Linked DNA regions of Homo sapiens: regions 2 and 3 are each linked to region 1. Evidence: promoter capture Hi-C in human tissues and cell types (Jung and others, 2019). All regions are on one chromosome and are shown on one strand. The core of a region is centred on a gene start or on the middle of the fragment in contact, and the rest is flanking DNA. Distances in the headings are between cores, read along the strand shown. Region 1 holds the start of RASSF1 (Ras association domain family member 1). Region 2 overlaps LOC105377085 (a long non-coding RNA gene). Region 3 overlaps DOCK3 (dedicator of cytokinesis 3).

Evidence for each region. Contacts are between HindIII fragments. The study calls those that stand out against the background at their distance.
Region 2: a contact is called between a fragment that was not itself captured here and the fragment with the promoter of RASSF1 in region 1, in 4 of the 25 tissues and cell types used here (bladder, dorsolateral prefrontal cortex, hippocampus and 1 more).
Region 3: a contact is called between a fragment that was not itself captured here and the fragment with the promoter of RASSF1 in region 1, in 1 of the 25 tissues and cell types used here (dorsolateral prefrontal cortex).

The regions. Positions count from the first base shown.
Region 1 is chr3:50,338,975-50,342,085 of GRCh38, reverse strand. It overlaps RASSF1 (Ras association domain family member 1), which reads left to right and starts at 1,250. Exons shown (of 6, transcript NM_007182.5): 1 at 1,250-1,530. The coding sequence starts at 1,281. It overlaps ZMYND10 (zinc finger MYND-type containing 10), which reads left to right. Exons shown (of 12, transcript NM_015896.4): 9 at 1-71; 10 at 155-276; 11 at 387-512; 12 at 601-974. The coding sequence ends at 676. RefSeq lists enhancers at 499-1,321, 1,322-2,145 and a silencer at 991-1,510. The HindIII fragment of the contact is 7,648 bases long and covers 1-3,111 here.
Region 2 is chr3:51,535,025-51,538,135 of GRCh38, reverse strand. LOC105377085 (a long non-coding RNA gene) reads right to left here. Exons shown (of 3, transcript XR_940835.3): 2 at 2,149-2,350; 3 at 1,467-1,977. Among named protein-coding and RNA genes, the nearest start is that of RAD54L2, 2.1 kb to the left of the region's middle. The HindIII fragment of the contact is 7,506 bases long and covers 1-3,111 here.
Region 3 is chr3:51,363,717-51,366,827 of GRCh38, reverse strand. The region is part of intron 49 of DOCK3 (dedicator of cytokinesis 3); the gene reads right to left. Among named protein-coding and RNA genes, the nearest start is that of MANF, 20 kb to the left of the region's middle. The HindIII fragment of the contact is 3,213 bases long and covers 24-3,111 here.

The DNA of each region.
Region 1 (3,111 bases), core at 1-2,500:
TGCAGAGTTTCCTGGCCCATCTGACCCTAACTGAAACCCAGCCTCCTAAGAAGGACCTGGTGTTGGAACAGGTAGGCACTGGAAAGTTAGCTGCTCAGGACCACTGTCCCACTTTACCAGCACCTTCCTGCCACTCTCCACTTCTCTCTCCTAGATCCCAGAAATCTGGGAGCGGCTGGAGCGAGAAAACAGAGGCAAGTGGCAGGCAATTGCCAAGCACCAGCTCCAGCATGTGTTCAGCCCCTCAGAGCAGGACCTGCGGCTGCAGGCGCGAAGGTAAGGCCTGTGGAAATGGCAGGGAGGGTGGAGGGGATGCAGGAGGCATGGATGTGGGTGGGGTGCCCCCACCTTCCAGGGCCAGTCAGACCTTCCTGACTTTCCCCCAGGTGGGCTGAGACCTACAGGCTGGATGTGCTAGAGGCAGTGGCTCCAGAGCGGCCCCGCTGTGCTTACTGCAGTGCAGAGGCTTCTAAGCGCTGCTCACGATGCCAGAATGAGTGGTATTGCTGCAGGTGAGGGTATCCTAGAACCTTGGACCTCTAAGCCCTACTCCCACATCCCCCACATGCATTGCCATCCTCAATACCCACCTGCCTGCAGGGAGTGCCAAGTCAAGCACTGGGAAAAGCATGGAAAGACTTGTGTCCTGGCAGCCCAGGGTGACAGAGCCAAATGAGGGCTGCAGTTGCTGAGGGCCGACCACCCATGCCAAGGGAATCCACCCAGAATGCACCCCTGAACCTCAAGATCACGGTCCAGCCTCTGCCGGAGCCCCAGTCTCCGCAGTGGAGAGCAGAGCGGGCGGTAAAGCTGCTGACCGATCTCCCTCCTCCTCACCCCAAGTGAAGGCTCGAGACTTCCTGCCCCACCCAGTGGGTAGGCCAAGTGTGTTGCTTCAGCAAACCGGACCAGGAGGGCCAGGGCCGGATGTGGGGACCCTCTTCCTCTAGCACAGTAAAGCTGGCCTCCAGAAACACGGGTATCTCCGCGTGGTGCTTTGCGGTCGCCGTCGTTGTGGCCGTCCGGGGTGGGGTGTGAGGAGGGGACGAAGGAGGGAAGGAAGGGCAAGGCGGGGGGGGCTCTGCGAGAGCGCGCCCAGCCCCGCCTTCGGGCCCCACAGTCCCTGCACCCAGGTTTCCATTGCGCGGCTCTCCTCAGCTCCTTCCCGCCGCCCAGTCTGGATCCTGGGGGAGGCGCTGAAGTCGGGGCCCGCCCTGTGGCCCCGCCCGGCCCGCGCTTGCTAGCGCCCAAAGCCAGCGAAGCACGGGCCCAACCGGGCCATGTCGGGGGAGCCTGAGCTCATTGAGCTGCGGGAGCTGGCACCCGCTGGGCGCGCTGGGAAGGGCCGCACCCGGCTGGAGCGTGCCAACGCGCTGCGCATCGCGCGGGGCACCGCGTGCAACCCCACACGGCAGCTGGTCCCTGGCCGTGGCCACCGCTTCCAGCCCGCGGGGCCCGCCACGCACACGTGGTGCGACCTCTGTGGCGACTTCATCTGGGGCGTCGTGCGCAAAGGCCTGCAGTGCGCGCGTGAGTAGTGGCCCCGCGCGCCTACGAGAGCGGAAGGGGCAGCCAAGGGGCAGCGCAGTCGCCGCGGGTCAAGTCGCGGCAGAGGGGGTCGGCGGGGACAGCTCCCGAGGACTAGGTCCGTTACTTTCGCCCCATCGCTGAAGAGTGCGCGAAAATGGTTTATCCCTTGTCGCACTCCACTCGTATCTGGGCCACAGATGAGCAGAGGTGGCTGCTTATATGTAAAAATACGCTGATTTTAAGTTTCTTATCTTTAAAATGCCTTGGCCCTTCTTGAGAAAGGGTTTGTGCCTACTGTCCTCGGAGTCCATCTTCCCAGGCTTGCCTCTTCTCAAACACTCATGACCCCCTCCAGAACCTTTAGGGTGAAGGGAAATTACCACCTATGGGAGGGAGCCTGGAAAAATTTAGAACCTTTGGTGGGCCCCCTGCAAGCAGGAGTTTTGTTGAGTCTTTATTTAGCAAACACCCTTTTCTGACCCAGTGAATCAGATGCTAAAATATGCACGCAGCCACACACCCAGCAGTCCTTCTGCACCCCTGGGAATCGCCAGCAAGCAAAGGTTGCTCTCCCCTGGGTAGACACCAGCTGGAATCACCAGGGGTGCTTTTACAGTCCTCCCCGCTAGCCTGGATCCCACCGCAGACCTGTTGAATCAACTGCTGGGAGTGGACCCTAGGCATCAGTAAATTTTAAAAACTCCCCAAATTATTGTAACATGGAGTCTGGGTTGAGCATCACTGCTCTGGCCTATTTAGGAACTTGTGGATGGATAGTGTCCCAGGTCTGTGTGTGCATGGAGACCCTCTCATCCGGTACAAGAGGACATCACAAATTCAGCTGGGGGGAGCACAAAGTTGTGACAGAATGCAAAGAATGAACAAGGGGCCGAGCGCGGTGGCTCATGCCTGTAATCCCAGCACTTCGGAAGGCGGAGGCGGGTGGATCACCTGAGGTCAGGAGTTCAAGACCAGCCTGGCCAACATGGTGAAACCTCATGTCTACTAAAAAATAAAAAAAAATGAGCCAGGCGTAGTGGCGGGTGCCTGTAATCCCAGCTACTCGGGAGGCTGAGGTGGGAGAATTGCTTGAACACAGGAGGCGGAGGTTGCAGTGAGCCGAGATCGTGCCACTGCCCTCCAGCCTTGGCGACAGAGTGAGACTCTGTCTCAAAAAAAAAAAAAAAAAAAAAAAGAACAAGGCTGGGACATTGCAGCGTTCTCAAAGAGAAATAAAGTAGCCATGGAGATAAGAAGCAGGATGATTTGGGCATGTTTATCAGAGGTAGAGACAAGGGAGAAATCAAAGATAAGTTTGGGCTTTTGTCTCCAGTAACTGGGAGCCTAGTGGCCATTTTTGCTGCAAAGAGGAAGCTGGGCAAGTGTAGCAGTGAGGCTGAAGAAAAGGGAATTAAATTTTGGCCATGTTCACTTGAAACGTCTTTTAGACATCCTAGTGAAGGTACTGGCACGGAGGATCTAGTCTGAGGGTTTAGGTCAGTGTTTCAGCCGTGGATCTGGGGCAGATGAATGTAGACAGACCAGGCCAGTGATCAGGACTGAGCCCAGACTTCATCGTGA
Region 2 (3,111 bases), core at 196-2,695, 1.2 Mb before region 1:
TTTCTTGATTGCTGACACTCAGGTGGAGGTTAAGGGTGCAGGTTCTCCTTCCTCAAGTTGGGAATTACTGCCATGTGGCCATGTGGGCTCCAGTTACTGATGGGACTGTAACGGCTCTCTCCACTATAGCCTCAGGTTCTCTTCTCCTCTTCCCAATAAGTGAATGTTGACAAAATGATTTTTTTTTTTTTGAGAAGGAGTTTCGCTCTTGTCGCCCAGGCTGGAGTGCAGTGGCGGGATCTTGGCTCACTGCAACCTCCGCCTCCTGGGTTCAAGCTATTCTCCCGCCTCAGCCTCCCGAGTAGCTGGGATTACAGGCGCCCGCCACCACGCCCCGCTAATTTTTTGCATTTTTAGTAGAGACAGGGTTTCGCCATATTGGGCAGGCGGGTCTCGAACTCCTGACCTCAGGTGATCCTGCCCACCTCTGCCTCCCAAAGTGCTGGGCCACCAGGCGTGAGCCACCACCTCTGGCCGACAAAGTGATGTTTTAAATTACAAAAGTGCATCTTTCTTTGAAGGCTTTGTATTTTACTCATAAAATCAAGAGGATAGCAATTCCTTTCTCGTCCCCACTTTCCTTTTCTTCTAGGCCTTCACACCTCTAAGATACCAGATGCGGTTATTTTTGGAGCTAACTCTTGATGGGAATTTAGATCTGCAGAAGGTGTTCCAAAAAAAATCCTAATTTTCAGGTGTTCTCAAATTTCCCATTTTTACATACCCCCTTGGCTTCTGAGACACATATATGCCTGATTTTTCATTTATATTATTTTCTGGAGGTAATGAAAGGGTTCTGCCTGTCAAAAGGCACTTTGCTATCTAATATGGATCTGTGTCCCCACCCAAATCTCATGTTGAATTGTAATCCCCAATGTTGGAGGTGGGGTCTGGTGGGAAGTAATGGGATCATGGGGGTAGATCCTTCATGAATGGCTTAGCACTGTCCCTTTGGTTCTCTTCTTGTGAGTTCTCACAAGATCTGGTTGTTTAAAAGTGTATGGTGTCGGCTAGGCGCGGTGGCTCATACCTATAATCCCAGCACTTTGGGAGGCCGAGGCAAGTGGATCACCTGAGGTTAGGAGTTTGAGACTAGCCTGGCCAAAATGGCAAAACCCTGTCTCTACTAAAAATGCAAAAATTAGCCAGGCATGATGGTGTGTGTCTGCAATCCCAGCTACTCGGGAGGCTGAGGCAGGAGAATCACTTGAACCCAGGAGGTGGAGATTGCAGTGAGCTGAGATTGTGCCACTGCACTCCAGCCTGGGCAACAGTGAGGCTGTCTTAAAAAAAAAAAGTGTATGGCACCTCCCCCCACTTCTCTTTTCCTCCTACTCCAGCCTTGTGAGGTGCTCGCTCCCCCTTCGCCTTCCACCATGAATGTAAGTTTTCTGAGTCCTCCCCTGAAGCCCAGCAGATGCCAGCATCATGCTTTCTGTACAGCCATGAGCCAATTAAACCTCTTCTTTATAAATTATCCAGTGCCAGGCATTTATTTATAGCAGTGTGAGAACAGACTAATAGAGTGTTCCTTCTGGAAACAGCAGGCTCATGGGTTAGAAAGCAGCACAGTCAAAGCCTCTGGAAGCTTCTCCGCTTCCTCAGGTAAGAGGAACTTCATCCTAGGTTCTTCAGAGGCAAAGAATGCCTCAAAAGCTGGTTCCAGCCAAGTGCAGTGGCACATTTCTGTAGTCCCAGCTTCTCAGAAGGCTGAGGCAGGAGGCTCACTTGAGCCCAGGAAGTCAAGTTCAGCTTGGGCAATATAGCAAGACACTATCTCTTAAAAAAATAAATAAAAATTTTAAAAAGCTAGTTAACTTCTCTCCAGCAGCCTGAGGTCAGATCAGCATTCCGACCCCTCCCAGCTTCATGTCTTGCATTTTACTCATTTGGCCTCTTAGCTGGGACTCTCCGGGTGACACATAGAGCATATTTGGCCTCAGGAGTTGAAACAGGTTCACATGAAAGCCCCAGAGACTACCAAAGAGAGGAGAAAGAAACCAGTCAGGTTGGCCAGATATATTTAAACGCACACACACACACACACACACACACACACACACACTCCTATTGTTAATCCCCCCACCCCCATCCCCTGGCCCCCAATTAAAAGACTTAAGGCACAACCACCAAAACATAGACACTTACCTTTCTCATGTCACTAAAGTAGGAGCCACAAAGGCCAGAGCTAGCTCCCCTGGTGATGGAAGCCTCTTCCATTCCCTCCTCCCAGGATGGCATTGTCCTTCTGTAACATCTGTTTCCCCACCCTTCTAGAAATTCCCTGACTACTTGGATGATGTCATGCCCGCACAACAACCTCTGAGATTCATGGTACCCCAAAATTCACCTGTAGAAAGATTTGGTTCTATTAGGGGAAGTCCCTAGAGTGATTTATGCATACACCTGCCTATTGTTGGCTATACCTTTAAGTGAGTTTAAAAGATCTGGGACTGCCCTTCTGGGATTAGGCAAAATTCACCAGGGACTTGTTGGTTAATCAGAAACCAGAACAAGGTTTTCTTCATCACCATGAAAACACACATGGAAAAACACTCTCTTCATTTTTTTTTTTTTTTTTTTTTTTGAGATGGAGTCTTGCTCTGTCACCCAGGCTGGAGTGCAGTGTCGTGATCTCGGCTCACTGCATCCTCCACCTCCCAGGTTCAAGCCACCCTCTTCATTTTATCTGTTTCACCTCCTGCTTATTCCGTGAGAGTTAGATCAATCCTGCACCCACCAGCCACACTTAATGGCCCCCCCTCACTTCTGAATGCCAAAGCCATGATCACTCTGAACCAGATTCCAAGGTGACAAAGGGTTGTATTGCTTTCTTCAACAGTCATCCCATTCTTGGGATATTTTTACCTTTTCTGCTTGTATACCACTCATCACCCAGATTATAATGTCCTAGGAGATTTTTTAAAAATCGACCCCAGTATCTAATGACGGCCTAGCATAATTGCTACGCCATAAAATTCCCCATTCAGCAACTATTTACTGGGTACCAATATGTACCAGGCACTGGCCAGGCACGGTGGCTCATGCCTGTAATCCCAGCACTTTGGGAGGCCAAGGCGGGCGGATCATGAGGTCAGGAGATCAAGACCA
Region 3 (3,111 bases), core at 381-2,880, 1.0 Mb before region 1:
TAGAACTCAGGATTAAGAAACTCACTCAAAACCACTCAACTACATGGAAACTGAACAACCTGCTCCTGAATGACTACTGGGTACATAACGAAATGAAGGCAGAAATAAAGATATTCTTTGAAACCAATGAGAACAAAGACACAACATACCAGAATCTCTGGGACACATTTAAAGCAGTGTGTAGAAGGAAATTTATAGCACTAAATACCCACAAGAGAAAGCAGGAAAGATCTAAAATTGACACCCTAACATCACAATTAAAAGAACTAGAGAAGCAAGAGCAAACACATTCAAAAGCTAGCAGAAGGCAAGAAATAACTAAGATCAGAGCAGAACTGAAGGAGATAGAGATACAAAAAACCCTTCAAAAATAAATGAATCCAGGAGCTGGTTTTTTTTGAAAAGATAAACAAAATTGATAGACCACTAGCAAGACTAATAAAGAAGAAAAGAGAGAAGAATCAAATAGATGCAATAAAAAATGATAAAGGGGATATCACCACCGATCCCACAGAAATACAAACTACCATCAGAGAATACTATAAACACCTCTATGCAAACAAACTAGAAAATCTAGAAGAAATGGATAAATTCCTGGACACATACACCCTCCCAAGACTAAACCAGGAAGAAGTTGAATCCCTCAATAGACCAATAACTGGTTCTGAAATTGAGGCAATAATTAATAGCCTCCCAACCAAAAAAAGTCCAAGACCAGATGGATTCACAGCCGAATTCGACCAGAGGTACAAAGAGGAGCTGGTACCATTCCTTCTGAAACAATTCCAATCAAAAGAAAAAGAGGGAATCCTCCCTAATTCATTTTATGAGGCCAACATCATCCTGATAACAAAGGCTGGCAGAGACACAACAAAAAAAGAGAATTTTAGACCAATATCCCTGATGAACATCAATGCAAAAATCCTCAATAAAATACTGGCAAACTGAATCCAGCAGCACATCAAAAAGCTTATCCACCACAATCAAGGGAGCTTCATCCCTGGGATGCAAGGCTGGTTCAACATATGCAGATCAATAAACGTAATCCATCATATAAACAGAACCAAAGACAAAAACCACATGACTATCTCAATAGATGCAGAAAAGGCCTTTGACAAAATTCAACAGCCCTTCATGCTAAAAACTCTCAATAAACTAGGTATTGATGGGACATATCTCAAAATAATAAGAGCTACTTATGACAAACCCACAGCCAATATCATACTGAATGGACAAAAACTGGAAGCATTCCCTTTGAACACTGGCACAGGACAGGGATGCCCTCTCTCACCACTCCTATTCAACATAGTGTTGGAAGTTCTGGCCAGGGCAATCAGGCAGGAGAAAGAAATAAAGGGTATTCAATTAGGAAAAGAGGAAGTCAAATTGTCCCTGTTTGCAGATGACATGATTGTATATTTAGAAAACCCCACTGTCTCAGCCCAAAAGCTCCTTAAGCTAATAAGCAACTTCAGCAAAGTCTCAGGATACAAAATCAATGTGCAAAAATCACAAGCATTCCTATACACCAATAACAGACAAACATAGAGCCAAATCAGGAGTGAACTCCCATTCACGATTGCTTCAAAGAGAATAAAATACCTAGGAATCCAACTAATAAGGGATGTGAAGGACCTCTTCAAGAAGAACCACAAACCACTGCTCAACAAAATAAAAGAGGACACAAACAAATGGAAGTTCCAACATTCCATGCTCATGGATAGGAAGAATCAGTATCGTGAAAATGGCCATACTGCCAAGGTAATTTATAGATTCAATGCCATCCCCATCAAGCTACCAATAACTTTCTTCACAGAATTGGAAAAAACTACTTTAAAGTTCATATGGAACCAAAAAAGAGCCTGCATTGCCAAGACAATCCTAAGCAAAAAGAACAAAGCTGGAGGCATCATACTATCTGGCTTCAAACTATACTACAAGGCTACAGTAACCAAAACAGCATGGTACTGGTACCAAAACAGATATATAGACCAATGGAACAGAATAGAACCCTCAAAAATAATACCACACATCTACAACCATCTGATCTTTGACAAACCTGACAAAAACAAGCAATGGGGAAAGATTCTCTATTTAATAAATGGTGCTGGGAAAACTGGCTAGCCATATGTAGAAAGCTGAAACTGGATCCCTTCCTTACACCTCATACAAAAATTAATTTAAGATGGATTAAAGACTTAAATGTTAGCCTAAAACCATAAAAACCCCAGAAGAAAACCTAGGCAATACCATTCAGGACATAGGCATGGGCAAGGACTTCATGACTAAAACACCAAAAGCAATGGCAACAAAAGCCAAAATTGACAAATGGGATCTAAACTAAAGAGCTTCTGCACAGCAAAAGAAACTACCATGAGAGTGAAAAGGCAACCTACAGAATGGGAGAATATTTTTACAATCTACCCATCTGACAAAAGGCTAGTATCCAGAATCTACAAAGAACTTAAACAAATTTACAATAAAAAAATCAAACAACCCCATCAAAAAGTGGGCAAAGGATATGAACAGACACTTCTCAAAAGAAGACATTTATGCAGCCAACAGACACATGAAAAAATGCTCATCATCACTGGCCATCAGAGAAATGCAAATCAAAACCACAATGAGATACCATTTCACACCAGTTAGAATGGCAATCATTAAAAAGTCAGGAAACAACAGGTGCTGGAGAGGATGTAGAGAAATAGGAACACTTTTACACTGTTGGTGGGACTGTAAACTAGTTCAACCATTGTGGAAGACAGTGTGGAGATTCCTCAAGGATCTAGAACTAGAAATACCATTTGACCCAGCCATCCCATTACTGGACATATACCCAAAGGATTATAAATCATGCTACTATAAAGACACATGCACATGTATGTTTACTGCGGCACTATTCACAATAGCAAAGACTTGGAACCAACCCAAGTGTCCATCAATGACAGACTGGATTAAGAAAATGTGGCACATATACACCATGGAATACTATGCTGCCATAAAAAAGGATGAGTTCATGTCCTTTGTAGGGATATGGATGAAGCTGGAATCCATCATTCTGAGCAAACTATTGCAAGGACAGAAAACCAAACACTGCATGTTCTCACTCAT